Linked DNA regions of Homo sapiens: regions 1 and 2 are each linked to region 3. The links are contacts of gene promoters, found by promoter capture Hi-C in blood cells and fetal thymus (Javierre and others, 2016). All regions are on one chromosome and are shown on one strand. Each heading gives the region's core, a stretch centred on a gene start or on the middle of the fragment in contact. The rest is flanking DNA. Distances are from core to core; before and after follow the strand shown.

Region 1 (3,560 bases), core at 1,012-3,511, 95 kb before region 3:
TCCATTGCCCACATAACACAGCCATGGCTCACAGGACAGCCTGCAGTCTTCTCCCAGAGCAACCAGGACAATGAGAAAAACACAGCTCTCTTTGCCAGGGACTCTTGAAAGCCAACCTGGACCGCATCAGAGTAGCAACAAGCTATCACACAGAAGTGGCTTCCCTTCCAGGCCACTAAGCCATGGTTACGTCAAGAGAATTAAGCAAGAAACGGGTTGATCAGGGCCATAGAAAAGAATGAGATCCTGTCATTTGCAGCAACATGAATGGAACTGGAGGTCATTATGTTAAGTGAAATAAGCCAGGCACAAAAAGACAGATCTTGCATGTTGTCACTCATACGTGGGAGCTAAAAAAATAAAAGGTAGAAGAGCGGATCTCACAGAGGTGGAGAGTAGAAGGATAAATACTAGAGGCTGGGAAAGGTGGGGACAAGTAGGGGGTAAAGAGAGGTGGGGTTAATGGGTACAAACATACAGTTAGAGAAAAGGCATTAACTTCTATTGTTCAACAGAAGAGTAGGGTGACTGCAGTTAAGACTATAGTTAACAACAATTGTCTGGTGTTTTTTTTTCTTTGAGACACACTTTCACTCTTGTTGCCCAGGCTGGAGTGCAATGGCGCAATTTTGGCTCACCGCAACCTCTGCTTCCCAGGTTCAAGCGATTCTCCCACCTCAGCCTCCTGAGTAGCTGGGATTACAGGTATGCGCCACCACGCCAGATTAATTTTGTATTTTTAGTAGAGACGGGGTTTCTCCATGTTGGTCAGGCTGGTCTCGAACTCCCGACCTCAAGTGATCTGTCTGCCTTGGCCTCCCAAAGTGCTGGGATTAATGGCGTGAGCCACTGCGCCCAGCCTGTTTTTATTTTTGAGAGGGAGTCTCTCACTCTGTCGCCCAGGCTGGAGTTCAGTGGCACCATCTCGGCTCCCTGCAAACTCCACCTCCACCTCCCAGGTTCCGGTGATTCTCCTGCCTCAGCCCCCCAAGTAACTAGGATTACAAGCGTGCGCCACCACACCTGGCTAATTTTTGCATTTTTAGTAGAGAAGGGGCTTCACCGTTTGGCCAGGCTGGTCTTGAATACCTGACCCCAGGTGATCCACCCACCTCAGCCTCCCAGAGTGCTAAGATTACAGGCATGAGCCACTGTGCCCAGCCAACAATGCAACAACGTATTGTCTATTTCTTCTTCTTCTTCTTTTTTTTTTTTTTTGAGACAGTGTCTTGCTCTGTGGCCCAGGCTGGAGTGCAGTGGTGTGATCATAGCTCACCACAGCCTCCATCTCCTGGGCTCAAGTGACCCTCCCACCTCAGCCTCCTGAGTAGCTGGGACTACAGGTATGCACCACCATGCCCAGCTAATTTTTTTTGGGTTTTAATAGACACAGGGTAATGCTATGTTGCTCAAACTGGTCTTGAACCCCTGAACTCAGGCCATCCTCCCACCTCAGCCTCCCAAAGTGCTGGGATTATAGGCCTGAGGCACCGTGCCCAGCCTTGTGTATTTCAAAGTAGTCAGAAGAGAGGACCTGAACTGTTCTGAACACAGGAAAATGAGGAATACCAAAGTGACAGACACCACAAACACTCTGCCGTGATCATTACATACTCTGTACATCTAATAAAACATCACAGGGACCCCATAAATATGTCAAACATTATGTATCTTTTTCTACATAGGACCATCAGGAGGGATGCTGGGTCAGCATGGAGAGCAGAGGCCGGTTGGCAGTATCCTTGCTCAAGGCCTGCCCCCTCACTCGCAGTGAACGAGTCCCTCCCATGACTCAGCACTCAACACTGCTCCCTGCAGTCATCACCCAGGGGCCTCTCCACTTCCTTCCCATAATGACGAGCATGTGGGGATCGTTCTGCACACTGTGGCCAAGCACCGCACAGTGGGCAGGGACCATCCTAGACCACTTCGCAGATAGAAAAACTGAGGCCCAGAGAGGCAAGGGGCCTGACTGAGGTGTAAGTGATGGAACCCCGGTGCCCCTGGAGGCTGGCTGCATGCCTGAGCCCCTGACCCTTGGGCATGGCCCCTTCTCTTGAGCACGGGGCAGTCACAGTGGCACTGGAGGTCAGGGCCTGTTTCTAGCCTGCTAGTGACTCCATCACCCTCCATCTCCCTTTTGCACTCTAGGAGCTGGTCCCATGGGGGCCAGGTACAATGTAAGCCTTTTGGCACATGGTGGCTGCTCTCCAGCCCTGGGTTACGGTTGTTTTTTGTTTGTTTGTTTGTTTATTTTGAGATGGAGTCTCGCTCTCTCGCCCAGGCTGGAGTGCAGTGGCGCAATCTCGGCTCACTGCAACCTCCGCCTCCCGGGTTCAAACGATTCTCCTGCCTCAGCCTCCTGAGTAGCTGGGATTACAGGCGCGTGCCACCACTCCTGGCTAATTTTTGCAATTTTAGTAGAGACGGGGTTTCATCATGTTGGCCAGGCTGGTCTCAAACTCCCGACCTCGTGATCTACCTGCCTCGCCCTCCCAAAGTGCTGGGATTACAGGCGGGAGCCACCGTGCCCGGCGAGTTACAGTCCTAATGGTGACTCAGGGCAGAGTGGCGCAGTGACTGAGTTCTGCCCAGAGGGAGCGCCCACCCGCTCTTCCCTGGCTGCCCCACCTACCCCAGCAGCCCTGCTCCCGCCTGCCACTCACCTCCTCATCCTTGTACCAGGACAGTGACTCGGCAGTCAGCACAAACCAGTACTCCTTGGAGCCGCCTTTCATCAGGCTGATGTTGTTGATGGTCAGCCAGCCCCTGCGGATCACCTGGGGGAAAGCGCGCAGCTTAGCAGGGAACCTCGCTCCGTGCCCCAGCCATCCCCCAGCGCAGCAGCCTTGCCCACAGCTCAGTGGGAAGCCAGGGACCGCAATAGAGACACCTCCAGCCCCAAAGCCCAGGAAACCCAGTTCCACCCTGTCCCAAGCATTTCCAGCAGGAAACCAACATGAGGCGCCACCTGGGCAGGTGGGCGGACAGACAGACTCACTGGGCCAGGGGCTGATGGGGTATAGACTCACAGAGGCCTGATGGAAAGGGGCCCATGGGAGGAGTCCCTGGGGCTTGTGTGTGGGGCTGTGGCACATGAAATGTGACATCTGAGGAACTGCACTTGTTTGCGTGAGATAAGGTTCCAAGGGTAGCATCCACACAGAGGGCTAGGGTCAAAGGTGTGAGCCCAGGGGCCCTCCCCAAGGACATTGAAGGAGCGCGGCTCATGTCCCAAGCTGGCTGCAAGCCTGGTGGTCATCCTTTTGACTGACACATCAGGGTTTCAGGCTGGGAGACCCCATGGATGGGGATTGTGTGGCTGTAGCTGTCATCTGCGTGGGGGTCAGAACCCAGGCCTGCGCAGGGACTCACCTGACAACTAACGGCAGGCAGCCTGGGGGCTGTGCTCCCATGCTCCCTGGCCGCTGGAGGCATGTGTGGGCAGAGCCCCCCACCCCACTCAGGACGAGGGCCCTGGGAGCTGCAGGAAGCACACGGAGGCACGCACAGGGCGGCCTGGGACCCAGGCACTGACAGACTTGGCCAAGCTACAAAGG
Region 2 (4,059 bases), core at 351-2,850, 110 kb before region 3:
CCGAGGCTGGGCCAGGCTCAGGCTGTGTGGTTAATATGGCCGGGAAGGACTATGTACACCTCAGGCCTGCCAGCTGGGCACTACCGAGCCCACTGGGCCAGGCTTGCCGCTGGGGAGCTCCTGCTAATGGGAAGTTGATATACCCCTGCACCCCAGCAAGGCCTGGGGATGTAGGCGCCCTTGGTGCCCGCACTTATAGAAGGCCTGCCCTACATGGGCTTTCCCAGCCCAAGAAGACCTTGGTAGAGTCCCCCCCAGGCTGGACCCCTCATTCAGGATGGTGTCAAGGGTTCTGGTCCCCCCTCTGCCACCCTGAGACTCCATCCCCCAAAGTGCAACACCCCAGCGCCCCCTGCCTGGAGCTCCAGGGCCCCTTTGCGCAGTGCGGTGTCCAGCCAGGCACAGGGGCCGGCCCTGGACCGGGGCCAGCGTTAAGGAAGAGGCCAGGGCTGCCCACTGGGAGCCTGGTCCCAGCATAGGGGCGGCGGAGGGCCCCAGACCACTGAAGCTCCTGCGCCGCGGGTGCGTGAGGCCCCCCCGAGAGCACGCCCCCCTCGAGGCCTAGTCGAGCAGGGATGGCTCGGCTGGGCGGATAATGGTGGGCCGGCTGGGCGCAGCAGGGGGTCTTCTGCTGCAAAGAGAATAAAGACAGGTGGGGAGGGGGAGACGGCAGTGAGGCCGGGAGCAAGAGGCAGGCCTGGGTTGAGGACCCAGCCCCCACCCACACACCACCCCAGGGTGTTCCCAGGCTGACCTCCGCAAGCCACCAGGGTGTCGGGCAGGAGTGCCAAACCTAGGCATCAACTCGCCTGCTGTTTGACCCTCAGTGAGCCCCCTGCCCTCCCTGGGCCTCAGCTTCCCCACCGGAGAAGTGGGGAGAATAAAGCCTGGCCCACGGTAGGTTGAGGCAGGCAGGAGCAGGAAGGAGAAGAAGGTAAACAGTGGGAGGAGGTGCCCAGTGTGAGGGTTCCCCAGCTGCCTGGTGGCACACCCCAGTAGGCAGAGGGCAAGCTGGGAGCCCCGGAGTCACCAGGGCTCCGCTACTCTGTGACACTGAACAAGCCTCTTGGCCTCTCTGGGCCTGTTTCCTCGCAAGCCAAATAGGGATGAGGACGATTCCTCCACTCCAGCAGCTGGGCACGTAGTGAGAGCTCACTGGGAGGAAGTGAGACAGGAGGAGAGACCCCAGGGTGCAGGCAGTTGGGGTGGAGGGCAGGGGGTTGGCCTTACCTGGGCACTCCTGGGGGAATCCCTGGGGGGATCCGAACTGGCCGAGATGGGATCTGAGGCGGGGCTGGGAAGAGGTCACTGTTGGCAAACACGCTCTGGGGTCCAGGCCGGGATGGGATTGGGGGCGCCGAGAAGGAGGCTGCTGCCCCCACGGGAACAGGAATCAGGGGGGGCCCTGGAGTGGGGCCCCTCACTGCTGGGGGCCGGCCAGGGGGGTGTATGCTGGACACCGGTCGGCGCTGTGGAGTGGGGCTGTGAGGAAGGAGAGGGTGTGAGCTACAGATACAGATGGAGTAGGAGCCCCCGCCATGCCACTGTGGCTGCCAGAACCTGAGGTGGGGGCTGGCTATGGGGACAGCGCAGGCGCAGTGGGATCCTCCCACCCCAACCTGAGCGCCAGTCCCACCTTCCCTTGCCCTCGGCCCCCTCAGGCACTTCCCACTCACAGGGCCCCCTCAGGCCTTGGGCCTGGGATCCACCCTCACAGCCAAAGACACTTCCAGAGTCCTCCAGATCAAGCCCTAATATCTCTAGGGGCCGTGGAACCTGCAAGCCCTGTCCAGACATCCAGATTCCCTCCTGGGCCTCAGTCCCTGCCACCTGCAGGCCTGGGTGCGATATCCTCCCCTTAAGGAACTCCATGGCTCCCCCAGGGCTCTGCAAGGCAGCCCCCTCTGAGGTTCCCTGCCCGACGGCCTCAATGGACAACTCAGGGGCGGCAGCAGCTCTGGCCACGCCTTGCGTTTGCCCCTCCAGAGCCTCCCATCTGCCCTTCTCTGTGCTCCAGGAGGCTCATCTCTCTCCTGTGGCTGCTGCCCCTCCAGCCTCTTACCCCAGCTTCCATTTGGGCTGTGCCAATGGAAGGCACCAGCAGAGGGCAGGCGGGGTATTTATTCACAGGGTCCTGCCCTAGAGCTGTAGGGCTGGCTCGCCCCCATACCCCTTCTCTCCCTCCTCCGGCCTCAGCAGGGCAGCAGCTCCCACAGTGCCCAGCCCTGGGTGCCACCCTTGGGCTGTGTCCTGTTTCCTGCCAGGACCCTGCAGGACACACAGGGAGGGCAGGAACCTGCAGGCCGAATGCTTGAGGGTAGGGGAACCAGGCTTCCGGACCTGTGGCTGCTGGCGCTCTGGAGCCAGGTGTCATCGACAGGCGGGGGTACAGGCGTGGACACAGTGCTGGTGCTGATGTCACCGATGATGTTGAGCGCCTCCTTGAGGGCATGGTACATGCGCAGCATGTCGTCCCGCCGCTGTGCCTGGTCAGCCGACTCCTCCATGAGGCTGCTCTGGTCTGCCGAGGAGTATAGGTAGGCCAGCAGCTCGTGGTGGATGAAGGCCTTCGTCTGCGGGCAGGGGTTGGGGAGGGTCAGGCTTGTGTATCACCCCAACCCAGAACCCACAGTGACTGCTGGAAAAACATCTCTCACAGGGCGGGGCCACCCCCAGACTTTTTTGAAAAAGAGTCTTGCTCTGTCACCCAGGCTGGAGTACAGTGGCTCAATTTCAGCTCACTGCAACCTCCGCCTCCCGGGTTCAAGTAATTATCCTGCCTCAGCCTCCCAAGTAGCTAGGACGACAGGCACGTTGACACCATGCTTGGCTAAGTTTTGTAATTTTTTTAGAGATAGGGTTCCACCATGTGGCCCAGGCTGGTTATGAGATTCTTATTCAACTTATTTCTAGTATCTTGCCTCTTCCATTGATGTCTTTTCTCCTGTTTTAGCTTATTTATTTATTTCCTTAACCTTGGCAGAATAATCCTGTTATATCTTTTTTGTTTTTGCTTTTTTTTTTTTGAGACAGTCTCACTGTCGCCCAGGTTGGAGTGCAGTGGTGCAATCTCAGCTCACTGCAACCTCCGCCTCCCGGGTTTATGCCATTCTCCTGCCTCAGTCTCCCAAGTAGCTGGGACTACAGGCGCCTGCCACCACGCCCAGCTTATTTTTTGTATTTTTAGTAGAGACAGGGTTTCACCCTGTTAGCCAGGATGGTCTCGATCTCCTGACCTTATGATCCGCCTGCCTCAGCCTCCCAAAGTGCTGGGATTACAGGCGTGAGCCACCGCGCCCAGCCAATCCTGTTATATCTTTATTTTTTTGTGACAGAGTCTCACTCTGTCACCCAGGCTGCAGTGCAATCTTGGCTCACTGCAACCTGCGTCTCCTGGGTCCAAGCAATTCTTGTGCCTCAACCTCCCAAGTAGCTGGGACTACAGGCGTGCCCCCCAACCCCCGGCTAATTTTTGTATTTTTAGCAGAGATGGGGTTTCACCATATTGGCCAGGCTGGTCTTTAACTCCTGACCTCAGGTGATCCACCCGCCTTGGCCTCCCAAAGTGCTGGGATTACAGGCGTGAGTGAGCCACTGCGCCCGGCTAATCCTGTTACATCTTCCACCTGGCTTCTGTTCAAACACTACTAGTTTCTGTTCATGAATTTTATACATTGTCCTTTCTGGAACCTCCTACTGGATACAGAAGTTTTTCAGTTACTTTTTTTTTTCTTTTTTTTTGAGACAGAGTCTCCCTCTGTCACCAGGCTGGAGTACAGTGGCATGATCTCCGCTCATTGCAAACTCCACCTCCTAGGTTCAAGTGATTCTCCTGCCTCAGCCTCCAGAGTAGCTGGGACTACAGACGCGTGCCACCACGCCCAGCTAATTTTTGTATTTTTAGTAGAGGGGGGTTTCAGCATGTTGGCCAGGATGGTCTCAGTCTCTTGACCTCGTGATGTGCCCGCCTCAGCCTCCCAAAGTGCTGGGATTACAGGCATGAGCCACCACACCTGGCCGTCACAACTTTTTTTTTTTTTAGATAGGGTCTCACTCCTA
Region 3 (3,604 bases), core at 227-2,726:
TTTGCTTCCTGAATCCTGGAAACAGCCCCAGAGAGTGGAGTTTGCCCACTGGACAGATGGGCACACCGCGGCTTCTCAAGGCTGTCCAGAGAAGGCTACATCCCAGCGCTAGCCACTGAGGCCTGATCACGCAAGAAGCCCCTTCCCAGGCTCCAAAGGAGGGCCCCCAATTTGTAGGCTGTAGCTGGGAGGCGGGCCCCTGTGTTCTAGCACTCGGAAAGGAATCCTGAAGTAAGGTACCCCCAGAGTCCTCCTTCCAGCTGAGAGGGGAAGTAGGGTCCAAACCTCCTCCTTCAGCTCTGTTCTCCCCTCTACCCTCCTACCACCCCTTTCCAGAGCCGTTGTGCCAGACACTCAGGGGTAGTCATGGGCAGACTAGGAGATGGCCAGACAGACAGAAGAATTCACACGGAAGAGAGGAGCCAGCGCTAGCCAGGAATCAAGCTGTAAGAGTCAGCCAGAGAGAATCAAACAGGGTCCCCTAGGAGTCAGCTAGCCAGTCAGACAGTAGAGGCCAGCTGGTGTCACCCAACAGAGGGACTGCTCAGTGTTAAAGTCTGTGAGGGGCACGGATGGGCGGCCAGACAGCAGAGGTCACCCTGGACAGCTAGCCAGACAGCAGGGGGCTGCCAGGTGGGACTGGACAGATGGACAACCAAATGGTGGTGGCAGGGAGGCTTGCCCAGGACAGAGAGACAGCCAACCAGACGGCGGGGGCAGCTCCAGATACAAGAACAAGCCAGCCAGACCGCAGCGGTCGCCCCAATAGATATCTAGATGGCCGGTTTCACCTCTGATGGACAGCCCGAAAGAGCAGAAGAGGGATCTACCCCAGACCCACGGCCAACCAGATGGCAGACTTCACCCACGAAAGCTGGGACCAGATGGACCGCAGGGTTCCAGCGCACCTCCTGTCCTACGGCGCCCTGGCCCGTGACACCGCCCCTGGGGCCCGGGCCTGCTCCGGAGCCCCTGCAGGGAGTCCTCTGCCCAGGGCGTCCCACAGGGCCCGCCTCCCCGACCCCGTCCGGTTCCCCGCCGCGGGCACGCAAGCGCCGCAGTTACGCCGGCGGCGCACGGCGCGCCATTCCCGGTCCGCCCTCCGCGCCCTAGGCCGCCACCCGCCCGCGATCCCTGCCGCGCCCGCTCACCGGCCCACGAAGTTCTCCAGCACCGAGCTCTTGCCGGCGCTCTGGCCGCCCACTACAGCGATCTGCGGCAGGTCCAGGTGGCAGCTCTGGCCGATGGAGCTGAAGGCGTCCTGCAGTTTGTTGACCAGCGGGATCAGCTCTTCCATCCCGCGGTTGCCCATGGCGCCGGCGGCCCCCGGCCCGAGCGCCCTGCGCTCCTCGCCCGCCGCCGACCCTCAACGACCTGGCCCCGCGGCGTCTGTAGCCGTTGCTCCCCGCCCGCCCGGGCCTCGGCAAGACGCCCGCTCCCGGCTCGGCCTCACGGTCGCCGCCTCATCCGGTTCTCAGGCGACACCCGACCCGAGCGACCTCCCGCCCCGGCCCCGGGGGCTGCGCCCAAAGCACTCGCGCCGCACGCGACTGGCCTGCTGCACCGCCACTCGGATACACTAGCCAATAAAAACTAGGCACGGGCCTATGGTTGAGTAAACCTTCCCCCTGGGGACCGTCTTGCTGACTTATTGGACAAAAGAACCGTCACTGTTGTGCAACAGCCAATAGCGGCAGAAAGCAAGTTGTCAAGAGAGGAAGGGGGTGTTTCCGAAAAAGGCACGTTGGCTCTGCCCATTGGCGAAGTTCCACCATCTTATTGGCAGGCAGACGTGCCAGTAGACAATGTGGACCAATGGTGTTGGGGATTGAGCTACTACCTCGTTCCCTAAGAATTTCCCATTGGTTCATATAAATATCACTTCGTTGCTCCAGCCAACCAGGCAAAAGAGGGCGGGCTTTAACATCCGAATCTTGACTATCATTGAGAACCATATCTGTCAATCAGAAAAACTCCCGTTCTTCCTTGTGATTGTTGGATGTCTGCAACAGCCTTCTGAAGTATAGGATAGATCCCACCGTACTCGCTCAAGGGCGACACCTCGTGGTGGGATCCGATGTCTCGATTTTTGAGTTTCCTGGCACTGGGGAAAACTACAAGTCCCAGAGCGCATCTCAGTTCCCAGACTGCAAACCAGCTCTGGGAGCAGGGTCCCAATGCGCTCTGCAAATGGTAGAGGCCAAGTCATTGCTTCCTAGGGATAGAACGCAATAAAATCACTCCTCCACGCCTTTGCAAATGCTGTGCCCTTTCTGCTCACGCCCGATCTTGACGCCGCTAACACTCCAATGTTTTCCCCCACTTCTTCAACTTTAGCAGATCATGAATCTTTTTTCTTTTCTTTTTTTTGAGGCGGGGTACTCACTCTGTCACCCAGGCTGGAGTGCAGTAGCGCGATCTTGGCTCACTGCAACCTCCGCCTCCCCGGTTCAACCAATTCTCCTGCCTCAGCCTCCCGAATAGCTGGGATTACAAGTGTGAGCCACCACGCCCAGCTAATTTTGTATTTTTAGTAGACGGGGTTTCACCATATTGGCCAGGCTGGTCTCGAACGCCTGGCCTCAAGTGATCCGCCCGTCTTGGCCTCCCAAAGTGTTGGAATTACAGGTGTGAGCCACCGCGTCTAGCTAATGAATCTTCTTTTCTTAGAAACTGGGTCCTTACTCTGTTGCCCAGGCTGGGGTGCAGTAGTGCACTCATAGCTCAATTCAACAAGCACCTGGGCTCAAACGATCCTCCCGCCTCAGCGTCCCGAGTAGCTGGAACCACAGACGTGCGCAACTATGCCCAGCTAATTATTTTTATTTTATTTTTTATAGAGACAGGGTCTTGCTGTGTTGTCCAGGCTGGTCTCAAACTCCTGCGCCCAAACGACCCTCACAGGCCGGCCTCCCAAAAGTGCTGGGATTACATGTGTGAACCCCCCCAACTGGCTTTAGATCTTTTTGAGTACCCACTAAAACTCAACAAATCCTCTCCCCGTGAAAAGACACGCTATTTTGTAGGCAAAATTGGGGTTCTGGGAACTGGAACTCCTGACAGTGGACAGAGACAAATAGGAGGATTTGAAGTGTTTTGACCCCTCTGGAGACAAATAGGCCAGAGACAAGGAAACCCAGTGAGAAGGCAGGAGCAGGTAAGTGCTCTGACCTGAGGCAGCACAAGAAGATGGAGAAAGAGGAGGAGGGTGGCTCATGGCATTTGCCTGTTTTGTGACCCAAAACCCCAGGTCTCAAAGAAATAGGCAAAAAGCGCCAGGTGCGGTGGCTCATGCCTGTAATCCCAGCACTTTGGGAGGCCAAGGAGGGCAGATCACCTGAGGTTAGAGGTTCGAAACCAGCTTGGCTAACATAGTGAAACCACGTTTCTACTAAAAATACAAAAAATTAGCCAGGCGTGGTGGTGCGTGCCTGTAATCCCAGCTACTCGAGAGGCTGAGGCAGGAGAATCGCTTGAACACGGGACGCAGAAGTTGCGGTGAGCTGAGATCGCACCGCTGCACTCCAGCCTGGGCAACAAGAGCAAAACCCCGTCTCAAAAACAAATAAACAAACAAACAAAAACGTTGAGGAAACTCTTCATG

The links. The method cuts DNA at HindIII sites, captures the fragments that hold promoters and counts their contacts. A CHiCAGO score of 5 or more calls a contact.
Region 1: a contact is called between a fragment that was not itself captured here and the fragment with the promoter of DNM2 in region 3, in 1 of 17 cell types (neutrophils). The highest score is 6.7, in neutrophils.
Region 2: a contact is called between a fragment that was not itself captured here and the fragment with the promoter of DNM2 in region 3, in 1 of 17 cell types (neutrophils). The highest score is 5.5, in neutrophils.

The regions. Positions count from the first base shown.
Region 1 is chr19:10,811,484-10,815,043 of GRCh38, reverse strand. It overlaps DNM2 (dynamin 2), which reads right to left. Exons shown (of 21, transcript NM_001005361.3): 15 at 2,667-2,780. Among named protein-coding and RNA genes, the nearest start is that of MIR199A1, 4.2 kb to the left of the region's middle. RefSeq lists an enhancer at 2,429-3,361. The HindIII fragment of the contact is 7,280 bases long and covers 1-3,560 here.
Region 2 is chr19:10,827,550-10,831,608 of GRCh38, reverse strand. It overlaps DNM2 (dynamin 2), which reads right to left. Exons shown (of 21, transcript NM_001005361.3): 19 at 2,341-2,573; 20 at 1,231-1,482; 21 at 1-631. The coding sequence ends at 562. It overlaps MIR6793 (microRNA 6793), which reads right to left and starts at 2,636; the gene lies at 2,574-2,636. The HindIII fragment of the contact is 6,850 bases long and covers 1-4,059 here.
Region 3 is chr19:10,715,951-10,719,554 of GRCh38, reverse strand. DNM2 (dynamin 2) reads right to left here and starts at 1,476. Exons shown (of 21, transcript NM_001005361.3): 1 at 1,152-1,476. The coding sequence starts at 1,312. It overlaps MIR638 (microRNA 638), which reads right to left and starts at 1,151; the gene lies at 1,052-1,151. RefSeq lists enhancers at 318-457, 1,898-2,017, 2,208-2,397 and a silencer at 948-1,617. The HindIII fragment of the contact is 21,985 bases long and covers 1-3,604 here.